3 separate regions of the Homo sapiens genome follow, and regions 1 and 3 are each linked to region 2. The links are contacts of gene promoters, found by promoter capture Hi-C in human tissues and cell types (Jung and others, 2019). All regions are on one chromosome and are shown on one strand. Each heading gives the region's core, a stretch centred on a gene start or on the middle of the fragment in contact. The rest is flanking DNA. Distances are from core to core; before and after follow the strand shown.

The links. The method cuts DNA at HindIII sites, captures the fragments that hold promoters and counts their contacts. A contact is called where the count stands out against the background at its distance.
Region 1: a fragment that was not itself captured here is called in contact with the fragment with the promoter of ST6GALNAC2 in region 2 in 1 of the 25 tissues and cell types used here (spleen).
Region 3: a fragment that was not itself captured here is called in contact with the fragment with the promoter of ST6GALNAC2 in region 2 in 2 of the 25 tissues and cell types used here (H1 embryonic stem cells and dorsolateral prefrontal cortex).

The regions. Positions count from the first base shown.
Region 1 is chr17:76,712,562-76,715,823 of GRCh38, reverse strand. It overlaps a transcript of JMJD6 not described here. Among named protein-coding and RNA genes, the nearest start is that of MXRA7, 3.2 kb to the right of the region's middle. The HindIII fragment of the contact is 3,371 bases long and covers 1-3,262 here.
Region 2 is chr17:76,584,574-76,587,836 of GRCh38, reverse strand. It overlaps ST6GALNAC2 (ST6 N-acetylgalactosaminide alpha-2,6-sialyltransferase 2), which reads left to right and starts at 1,977. Exons shown (of 9, transcript NM_006456.3): 1 at 1,977-2,153. The coding sequence starts at 2,029. RefSeq lists enhancers at 310-990, 991-1,672 and silencers at 1,541-1,830, 1,881-2,220. The HindIII fragment of the contact is 21,800 bases long and covers 1-3,263 here.
Region 3 is chr17:76,440,012-76,442,999 of GRCh38, reverse strand. The region is part of intron 1 of UBE2O (ubiquitin conjugating enzyme E2 O); the gene reads left to right. Among named protein-coding and RNA genes, the nearest start is that of UBE2O, 12 kb to the left of the region's middle. RefSeq lists enhancers at 1-7, 1,432-1,949. The HindIII fragment of the contact is 6,251 bases long and covers 1-2,988 here.

The DNA of each region.
Region 1 (3,262 bases), core at 357-2,856, 130 kb before region 2:
GATACTTCTAAATAACTAACTGGATGACTTTTTGGGGATTGACCAGCAGATGCCATCTCTTGCCCTCTTGATTCACCTGCTTGCCTTAATTTGTCCCTAAATTCAACTAAACTTCAATAAGAGGGGTTGTCAAGGCCATGGGGCGCACTTGGAAGCACTGCCTGGGCTGGAGCGTTGGAGGCATTGGCAGGCAGGTGGGAAGGAGCTCTCACTGCAGTGTTCACAGGCAGGGAGGCTGTGTGTGGATGTGTTAGAATTGTGTGCTGTTGCCTCTCAAAATATCCACTAGAAACAGGTGTAACCAGGAAAATACAGGTCTCTGCTCACTGTTATTAACAGACTGTCATTTCCTGACATTGGGTCATGTGGCTTTACTCTAGGAGGCTGGTTCTCTATTTTTGTCTTAGTTCAATTTTCTGCATCCTCAAATGCCAACCCCAGTATGTGGCTGGGTAGGTAGAACTGTGCTGCCTGCCTGCCATGGGGGCTGCTCTCCCTCCTTACCCCCACGCCCACAGCCCCCTTGGTTCTGTGGTGGGCACAGGATGTGTTTGGGTGTGAGTAAAGTCAAACTCTGAATGTATAATCTCTTGGTAGTAATATCTGAGTGGTGTTGCTACTCCTGCTTTTTAAAAAGACTTTTCTTGCCATCTATAAAAAGCTTTTTTCTTTTTCCCAGCATTGCTCCTGTGCTGCCACGCTTGCCCTTTTTCCTTACCTTCCTTTCAGTTTTCTATCAACAACTCCTCTAAACTTCAGTTTAAAATAAAAAACAGCCCAAAAAGGCTCTTTGCCACCAGGGGGCGTGGTAGGACACGTTGCCAGTGGTCTGGATAGGGGAGCAGAAATTTTGAATTTTAAAAATTAGCCACCAAGGCCAGGTGCAGTGGCTCACACCTGTAATCCCAGCACTTTGGGAAGCTGAGGCAGGGGGATTGCTTGAGTCCAGGAGTTCAAGACCAGTCTGGGCAACATAGTGAGATCCCATCTCTCAAAAAAATAATAATCTAGAAAATAAAGATTAGCCACCCAGTTTTCTTTCTCCAGATGCTAAAGTTGATTCCTGTTTGATAACAGTATTCCAGAAATGAGGGGAATAACATATCTGATAGGCCCAAGTCAGCTCTGGATAGTACAGTGTCTGGATAGTACAGATTCTGTGCTCCTGGGACATGCTTTGTTTATTCCTGCCAGGCCAGGGATTCAGCAGCCCTATTCCCCAACCCCCGTTACTGTCTCTGTGGGCTAGCCAGGCTGTCCGTTATGTAAGCACAACAGGGGCAAGGTGGGGAAACCGTGTGTGGAAAAGGAGTGGAGTGGTGGCGGGTGGCCAAGGTAGACTAGGAAGAGTGGGTACCCAGAGACCACTTGTTCAGAAGTTAACTCCTCTTCCCATCTGGCGTGAGCTACTCCATTGAATGGTGCCAACAACAGTAAAGTGAAGGAGATAATGTTAGATTATTTTCAGGGATGATTCTCCAAGATGACAGCAGATCTTAAAACCAAAGAGCTGGGTCCTGGAAGAAGGGATCTTGGATTATTAACTTCTGATGGAAGGACCAGAGTGGGAGAGAGAAGAGTTGGGGACCTAGAACATCAGGAGGACCCTGGGTCTTTGGGGATGAGGCTTCACCATCAGCTGGAAGAATCCATGCTTCACACACATGCCTCTGCCATTAGTGGTACTGGGATGTTTAGGGTGACATCCTTGAGGGGAGAGCCACTGAAAAGAGGGACATTCACATTTTGCTGTATTCTTGCAGCTGTCCGTGTCTTAATAATTCAAGCGTTCAATAGGTGTTTGAGGGCCAGGCACTGCTCTTGAGGTGCTGGAGATAACGGTGACAAGCCCAGGTCCCTGACAAGCTCCACAAGCTTAATGGACAGTGAATGTGCGGCTGTTGCGGCTGTTCACAGGGCCGCTGGTGAGGGCAGGTAGAAGAAAGTGCAGACCTTCTTAAATGCAGGTGTAACGGATCTACATGAAAGAGCATAATTAACACCAATGTATACTTAAGGTAGTAACAGCTTCTTCATAAAGTAGCAAAACTAAGGATCTGTGGGAAGGTTGCTGGTGCAAATGCTTTATAAGCTTACTAGAGACTGAGCCTTGGATTTAGGACTTTAGACGAGTATAGGATGGAACAAAATTTTTGCAGTAAATGTAAAAAATGCTGTGTAGGAGGAAGGCGTATAAGGATGCCCCAGCTGTAGGTTCTTTAGATTGTCTGTAGTATTTCCACGAGTAAGTTGTTTTTGATGTGTGTACTGGTATTGCTGGTAGATTTGAAGTGGAGTCTGGCGGCTTCTTCCACACTCCCCTCCCACTAGCTTGTGTCAAGATGTGACATCCTATGCAGCAAAACTAGGTGAGCTTGCACCCCCAGGCGGTGGCTCTCAACTTTGTCTCATTGTTCAGAAATTTCGGCCAGGCGCCGTAGCTCACCCCTGTAATCCCAGCACTTTGGGAGGCCATGGCAGGTGGATCACTTGAGGTCAGGAGTTCAAGACCAGCCTGGCCAACACGGTGAAACCCCGTCTCTACTAAAAATACAAAAATTAGCCAGGTGTGGTGGCACATGCCTGTAGTCCCAGCTACTTGGTCAACTCAGGCAGGAGAATCACTTGAACCCAGGAGGCAGAGGTTGCAGTGAGCTGAGATCAAGCCACTCCAGCCTGGGTGACAGACCGAGACTCTGTCTTTAAAAAAAAAGAAATGTCATCTAAGCCCCAGTGAACCTCCTGGGAGGAGAGCTAGCCCTGGCCAGCTGTCTCCAAAGTGACTGGATGCTACAGAAGAACTGGGACTGTCTTCTGCACACTCGTGCCTCCTGGAGTTGTCAGAACACTGAGCAGTCTCCTAGTTCTGCGTCCGTCTAGCCATGGGGTCTGCCATGAAAGCCTGTGGATCTGCTATTGGGTTGGTATTTTAAACTTTCACTTGGGTGAAACTTGTTCATCATTTTAAATAAAGCAACATGATTTGGAGTTGTGTTTTTGGCATTGTTTTGTCCTTATTTTCTTTCTTACTCATTTGAAAGTCAACAATGTACTTTGTCAGCAGAACAGGACTTTAAAAAAATGTATTTACACTTTAAAACAATGGGATGGAGCACAAAATTAAGGCCCTGGGCCAGGAGCATTGATGCACACCTGTAATCCCAGCTGCCCAAGAGGCTAAGGCAGGAGGATCACTTGAGCCCAGGATGTCGAGGCTGCAGAAAGCTATGATCATGCCTGTGAATAGCCACTGCACTCCAGC
Region 2 (3,263 bases), core at 728-3,227:
GGTGCACTCCTGTAATCCCAGCTACTGGGGAGGCTGAGGCAGGAGAATCGCTTGAACCTGGGAGGTGGAAGTTGCAGTGAGCCGAGATCACGCCTCTGCACTCCAGCCTGGGTAACAGGCTGTTTCAAAAAAAAAAAAAAAAAAAAAGACTAGAGTCCCGGCAGGGAGAGGCTGGGCTGTGTGTGGGGGCCAAGTTTGTAGGTTTGTAAGTGGAAGTTGAATAAATTACTAATGAATGATTCTCCTTTTCTCCATGAAGTAGAGGGTAAGGCACTTACTGAGAGCAAGGGCTAGGAGGGATATTTATGGGCACAGAGAGAAGGTCTGAGGAAATGTGAGAAGCCAGTGATCAGGGGATAAGTAACATCTACAGGAATTTTGACAAGTAAACCCATAAAGATTGAAATGAAAGTCGTGACACCATAAATTCCAAGTAGTGCCCATCTGCGGGGTAGCAAGATGAGTCTGGCTCTGCTGAGCAGTCTTGGGGTGAAGGAAAGAACTGGCCCAATGTGAGTGACCTCCAGTGACCCTGACTTGGTAGGAGTACTGAGACTGGATGGACTGAATGGCCATTCCTGACCACAGGCCCAGGCCCTGGGAGGTTTTCGGGAAGCCTTGCAATCAGACAGGTACCTGTTGCTGCACCCAGACTTCCTCGGATACATGAAGAACAGATTAGAGCCAAAGGCCCGTGACACGGTAGCCTAGGTCCCTCTCATCCTTGCAGCCTGCTGACAGTTGGGAGTCTGGGGCATGTCACAGCCTGCCGCATGTCACAGCTTGCCGAACAGTGGCCACTGAAGCACACCCATCTCATCCATCACTCACTGCCAGGGAGTGTTCCACTTAGAGAGCACGGGTGCTGAGCTTCCCAGCCCTTTCTGATGCTGGAGCCTGCTAGACCAGGGGTCCCCAATCCCAAGCCTGGTCCGAGACCTGTTAGGAACAGGGCATCGCAGCAGGAGGTGAGTGGAGGGGGAAGGAGCATTACCGCCTGAGCTCCGCCTCCTTCAGATCAGCCTCGGCATTAGAGTCTCAAAGGAGTGCGAACCCTTTTGTGAAATGCGCATGCCAGGGATCTAGGTTGCGGGCTCCTTATGAGAGCATCTTAACTCATGCCTGATGATCTGAGGTGGAACAGTTTCATCCCCAACCCCCCCACCCCCACCCCCCTCCGTGGAAAAATTGTCTTCCAGGAAACCAGTCCCTGGTGCCAATAAGTTTGGGAACCCGTTGTGCTGAACATTTCAGGTGGTCTCTCTGACTGGCCTCGTTCTGTGAAAGGAACTCAATGCGATTGAGGGGACTGGCCACCCTGGATGGTTACCAAATAAGCGCTGACAGCCTTAGCTCCCCCACGAAACCCATCACGGCAAGCTCCCCACCTCACCCCCTTTTCCCCCCTCTACCGCCAGCCCAGAGACTGAGCTGTCGGGTTTTGCTCCTCCACCCTGCCCGCCCCCTCCCAGCTGTCCTGGCGTCCGCAGACTGACAGATCTGAGGGTCCTTTGGAGGGAGCCGGGCACATCTCCTCCCGGCCGCCGCCCACCCGCCACAGAGTCTAGAGGCCGAGTGCCGGGCCCGCAGAGGGCAGAGCGCAGCCAGCGCAGCAGGTGGCGGCGTCTACCCGCGCCTAGCTAGCCCCGGACGGCGCGAGGAAAGCGCCCTGCCCAACCCGAGACTGGCGGCCTCCCGGGGCTGGGCTCTGGAGAGAGCGCAGTGGCAGGAGTGGCCGCTGCCGAAGTCCCCCGGGCAGGGGGCAGGGCCAAAGGAGCGCGCGCTCTGGGCGCCGGGACGACACTCCAGCCCCGGGGGACCCGCCGCCCAGCTCCCGAGGGTGCGGCAGCCTCTGGCCACTCAGCCGGGGCCGAGAGGGAGCTGCCGGGCGGGCAGGCGCCGCAGGCACCCGGCGGGCAGGGCGGGGCAGGGCAAGACGGCCGCCTCCGCAAGTGCCACCCGGCCCACCCGGTTCTCTCCCTTCTGCCTGGGACGTCAGCGGACGGGGCGCTCGCGGGCCGGGGCTGTATGGGGCTCCCGCGCGGGTCGTTCTTCTGGCTGCTGCTCCTGCTCACGGCTGCCTGCTCGGGGCTCCTCTTTGCCCTGTACTTCTCGGCGGTGCAGCGGTACCCGGGGCCAGCGGCCGGAGCCAGGTAGGGGCTGCCGAGCGCAGAGCGGGAGGGCGCAGGGGCGACCAGGGCGCGGGGAGGGTCCCCAGCCCAGGGCTCCCCGGCGGCCCGCAGCCCTCAGCCCAACCTCCGCGTGGACCCCTCTGGGGCAGCTCTCAGCGAGGACTCGGCCGCGGCCCTTTGTCGCCAGAACCCTCTCCCAGCCTTGACCTCGCGCTGCCCGGACCCCGCGGCCTTTGCCTGGGTCCAAGGAAGACCTCGCCCCTGTGCACTGGCGACCCGCCCCGGTGCCCCTTGTTGGTGAAGTCCTCCCCGGCCTGATAAGTACACTTTCTATTGTCGAAATCTGGCTGGGTCCCCGAAGCAGATAAAAACTTCCTTTTTTGTCGGGAACTCTCCCTCGGTAACGTCAGATTCTGCTTTTTGGGCAGGGGCCCAAGTCTCCGGTTTCCAACTTCGCGGGGACCCTCCGTCGGGCCGCGGCCAGTCGCCTTTCCCGCCCGCTGCGGTCTCTGTCCGCCCCGCGCCCGCTCCCTTCTCCCCGGCTTCCGCTCGCCGTGTCTGGATAAGCCCAGTGCGGGCGCGATCCGCGAAGAGGCGGGCGCCCGAGGGAAAGAGGGGTGACTCCTGGCTCCATCCGCGTTCTCCTCCCCGCGCCGCGTCCTGCGCTCCACTCCCTCCTCCTCCCTAGGCACTTTCCTGGGTGTCCCACGAGGAGAACCTGGGAGCCGGCCTCTAGCAGGTGGTGGTTCCGGTGACTGAAGAAGCCGCAAAACGATTTCGCTTAGCTTAAGAAAGGCGGACCAAGCCGTGCGAAGTCTGGGTTTGGGAGGAGGGAAGGGCCCGGCAGCCTCAGGGAGAGGCCTCCAGCCCCAGCCTTTCCCTTCCTGGAGCTTTTCCATCTGCGCACCCCCTACCAACCTTGCTGGGGGGCTAACGGGATGAAAACAAAATAAGTATCTGGTCTCCACAGATGCTGTCAAAGGATACACCAAAAGTTGCAGAACAATGTGAAACAGCTTGCCAGTGATCAGGAGTCCAGCACTCTTAGAACAAAGGGTGCTTGCCCCGCCACGGTGACTTAACGCCTGTAGTCCCAGCACTCTGGGAGGCGGAGGTGGGAGGATAGCTTGA
Region 3 (2,988 bases), core at 280-2,779, 140 kb after region 2:
GGGGTCATTTTTAATTTACCTTCTTTGGCCCTCATTCTAACTTGTCATCAGTTCTTTGAGAGGCCTCTTGCATCCTGTGCCTGCATTTCCCTTTCACAACCCTGGTTTGCTCTCTGCTTGCCTCATGCCTGCACTGTGTAGCCTTCTCCCTGGTCTCCCTGCCTCTAGTCCTCCTTCAACCAGTGAACAGCGCTGCCGCCAACTGACCTCCAAAGGGCTGACCTCCCAAGTGATCGCCTGGATTGTGTCAGGACCCAGCCTCTGATCATGCCTTGGTTGTCATTCAGGGCCCCTCACCTACACATCCTGCTCTATCTCCTGCCTCTTCAGTTGATTCCAGCCAATCTGACTGCTTTTCCCCAACTCAATTGTGCCGTTCCCTTCCTCTCATGCCCCATGGCACACCCACATTCTCTCCTGGATGGGAAGCTCCTTGAGAAACAGAGACAGCAAATCCTAAAGCTTGTGTGCTATCACGCACATGCAGACTCTTGGGAAACATCTTCATGAATGACCAGTTTGCTCCCTCCCACTTACTACAAATAGTATTCTTAGTCTTCTTCCAGATGCCCTGTGGTCTGTGCTGGAGCTGTATGGGCCCCTTACTAGACCACTCTGTCTCCCACCCCCCGTACTAGGTGTGTTGACCATGTACAGTAATTTATTGCCCAAGTTGGGTTCTTTTGAGAGTACTATGAATAATTACTCCAGGACTGGGACGTATGGGCATCCTAATACTAGGAAGAGCAGATTAATCAGAATACACCATATTGTAGTTACTACTTTGGCAACTTCCGTCGCGGGCTCCCCAGGCAGACTACGTGCATTGTGGACTAGGCTAGAGCTAGCTAGAGCTGGTGTCACCTGTGGTCGAAATGAAGCTGCTTCTGGCTGCATTTCCCCTGTAAGAACCCCGCCTAAAGCACTTGACAAATGGCAGATTCCACACACGTGGGTTTCCTGAATGGTTATCAGCACCCAGTCCTCACCTTAGGAGGATGGCTAAGTACGAACGAGGCTCTCTATTGGAAAAAGAATGCCCCACCCGACTGCAAATGAATCAGGAACGCAGCTTAGGCTATGCACTCTGCCTGCACCAAGACCCTTGGGGGCGGGGCCTGGAGTTGCAGTGGCTATGCCAGGCCTATTACTTTGAAGGAGTCAGGAACCATCTATTGAAAGTAGATATAACCACCCCTGTTTATCAGTGGAGGGGGAGGGGGAAGTGAAGAGAGCATGAATAAATGGATTCTAATCCAGCACTTTTCCAAGGTGAATGCCACATGCCATCACCTAGGGTCTCCTAATGCAAATTGTCCTAATTCCATTGGGCTGAAGAATCTGCGTGTCTAACAAACTCCCAGTGACATTGATGCTGCTGGCTGGGACTGTCTTTTGAATTGCACTTATATGGGCCCTTCCAAACCTCGTTGATGTCAATGGGTTCAGTTTTAGTACGTCTTTGGTTCGAGGCTTTTTCTCTCCCCTCTGCTTATTCTTCTAGTGCCAGTGTTAATGAACCGGGAATTGTCCAAAGGTGGGCTGCAGGAGGGGCAGGAAAGGGATGAGGCGGACTCATCATCCGCCAGTGCTTTAGTGTTAGAAAGGCTTGCCTCTTTCTTCCTCCCCATTGCTTGCTGGTGGTTATTATTAATGCACTGCTGTTGCTAAGAAGTTTCATTTGATTTCATTTCATTTTAGGATGTAAATATGGTAGTTGTTTTGAGTATAACACACCCAATCCAAGAGGAGAATGATTATTCAGCATTTTAATGAAATTGCTGTCTTTTATCCAGCCAGTGTCAATGGATTCCTGCTGTGAGCCAGGCATGTTAACTCACACTTTACCTGTGTCATCTCACTTCCCTTAAAGTGGCCAGTGCCCCATTTTAGAAAAGGAAAGACTGAAACCCAGAGAAAGCTTATAACTCACCAAGGCCACATAGCAAGTGGGAGGCCAACCCAAATTCAAACTTAGGCCAGTTTGTGCTGCCCGAATGCAGGTTCTCTTCACTGACTACACGGGTGCCCCCTGCACTGTGCTGGGTGCTGTGGGGAGAGAGATACCCCCACACAGGCCCTGCCCTCTAGATAAGGGGCCAGCCAAACTTTCTGTAAAGGGCCAGATGATAAATGTCCTAGTGTTGCAGGCTATACTGTCTCCTTCACAACAACTCAGCTTTGCCATTATAGCACAAAAGCATTCAGAGGCAGTAAGCAAATGAATGGGCATGGTCATGTTCCAATAAAATTTTAAGAAACAGGCAGTAGGCTGGACATGACCTGCAGGCTGTAGTTTTCCCACCTCTGCTCTGGAAGGATCCTGAAAAATAGAGATACAATGTGAGCCACAGCTGAAAAAAGTAAATAGAGGCCAGGCATGGTGGCTCATGGCTATAATCCCAACACTTTGGGAGGCCAAGCCAGGCGGATCACTTGAGGCCAGGAGTTCGAGACCAGCCTGGGCAACATGATGAAACCCCATCTCTTCAAAAAGTACAGAAATCATCTTAGCGTGGCAGCTTACGCCTGTAGTCCCAACTACTCAGTAGGCTGAGGTGAGAGGATCGCTTGAGTCCTGGCGGTCGAGGTGGCAATGGGCCGTGATCGTGCGACCCATTGCCCTTAAGCCTAGGCAACAGAGCAAGACCCTGTCTCAAAGTAAAAAAAACAAAGAGATGAAATTAATTTTAATATATTTTACTTAACCCAATGTATTCAAAATATTATATCAACATATAACTCATATGATAAGTACTAATGAGAGACTGTGCGTTCTTTTTACCATAGTGGCTACTGGATTGGGTAGCACTGCTTCAGAGACTTAGATAGGAGAGAGAACCATCGCTGTGATCTCCTACTCAGCTTTTTTCCCTCATAGCACCTGGCATTACCTGAGATTATACTACTTCATGTCCTGTTTACTGTCCCCAGCCGGAAGGTAAGAGAAGCACAGAAGCATCTCTGTCACTGCTATATCCTCAGTGA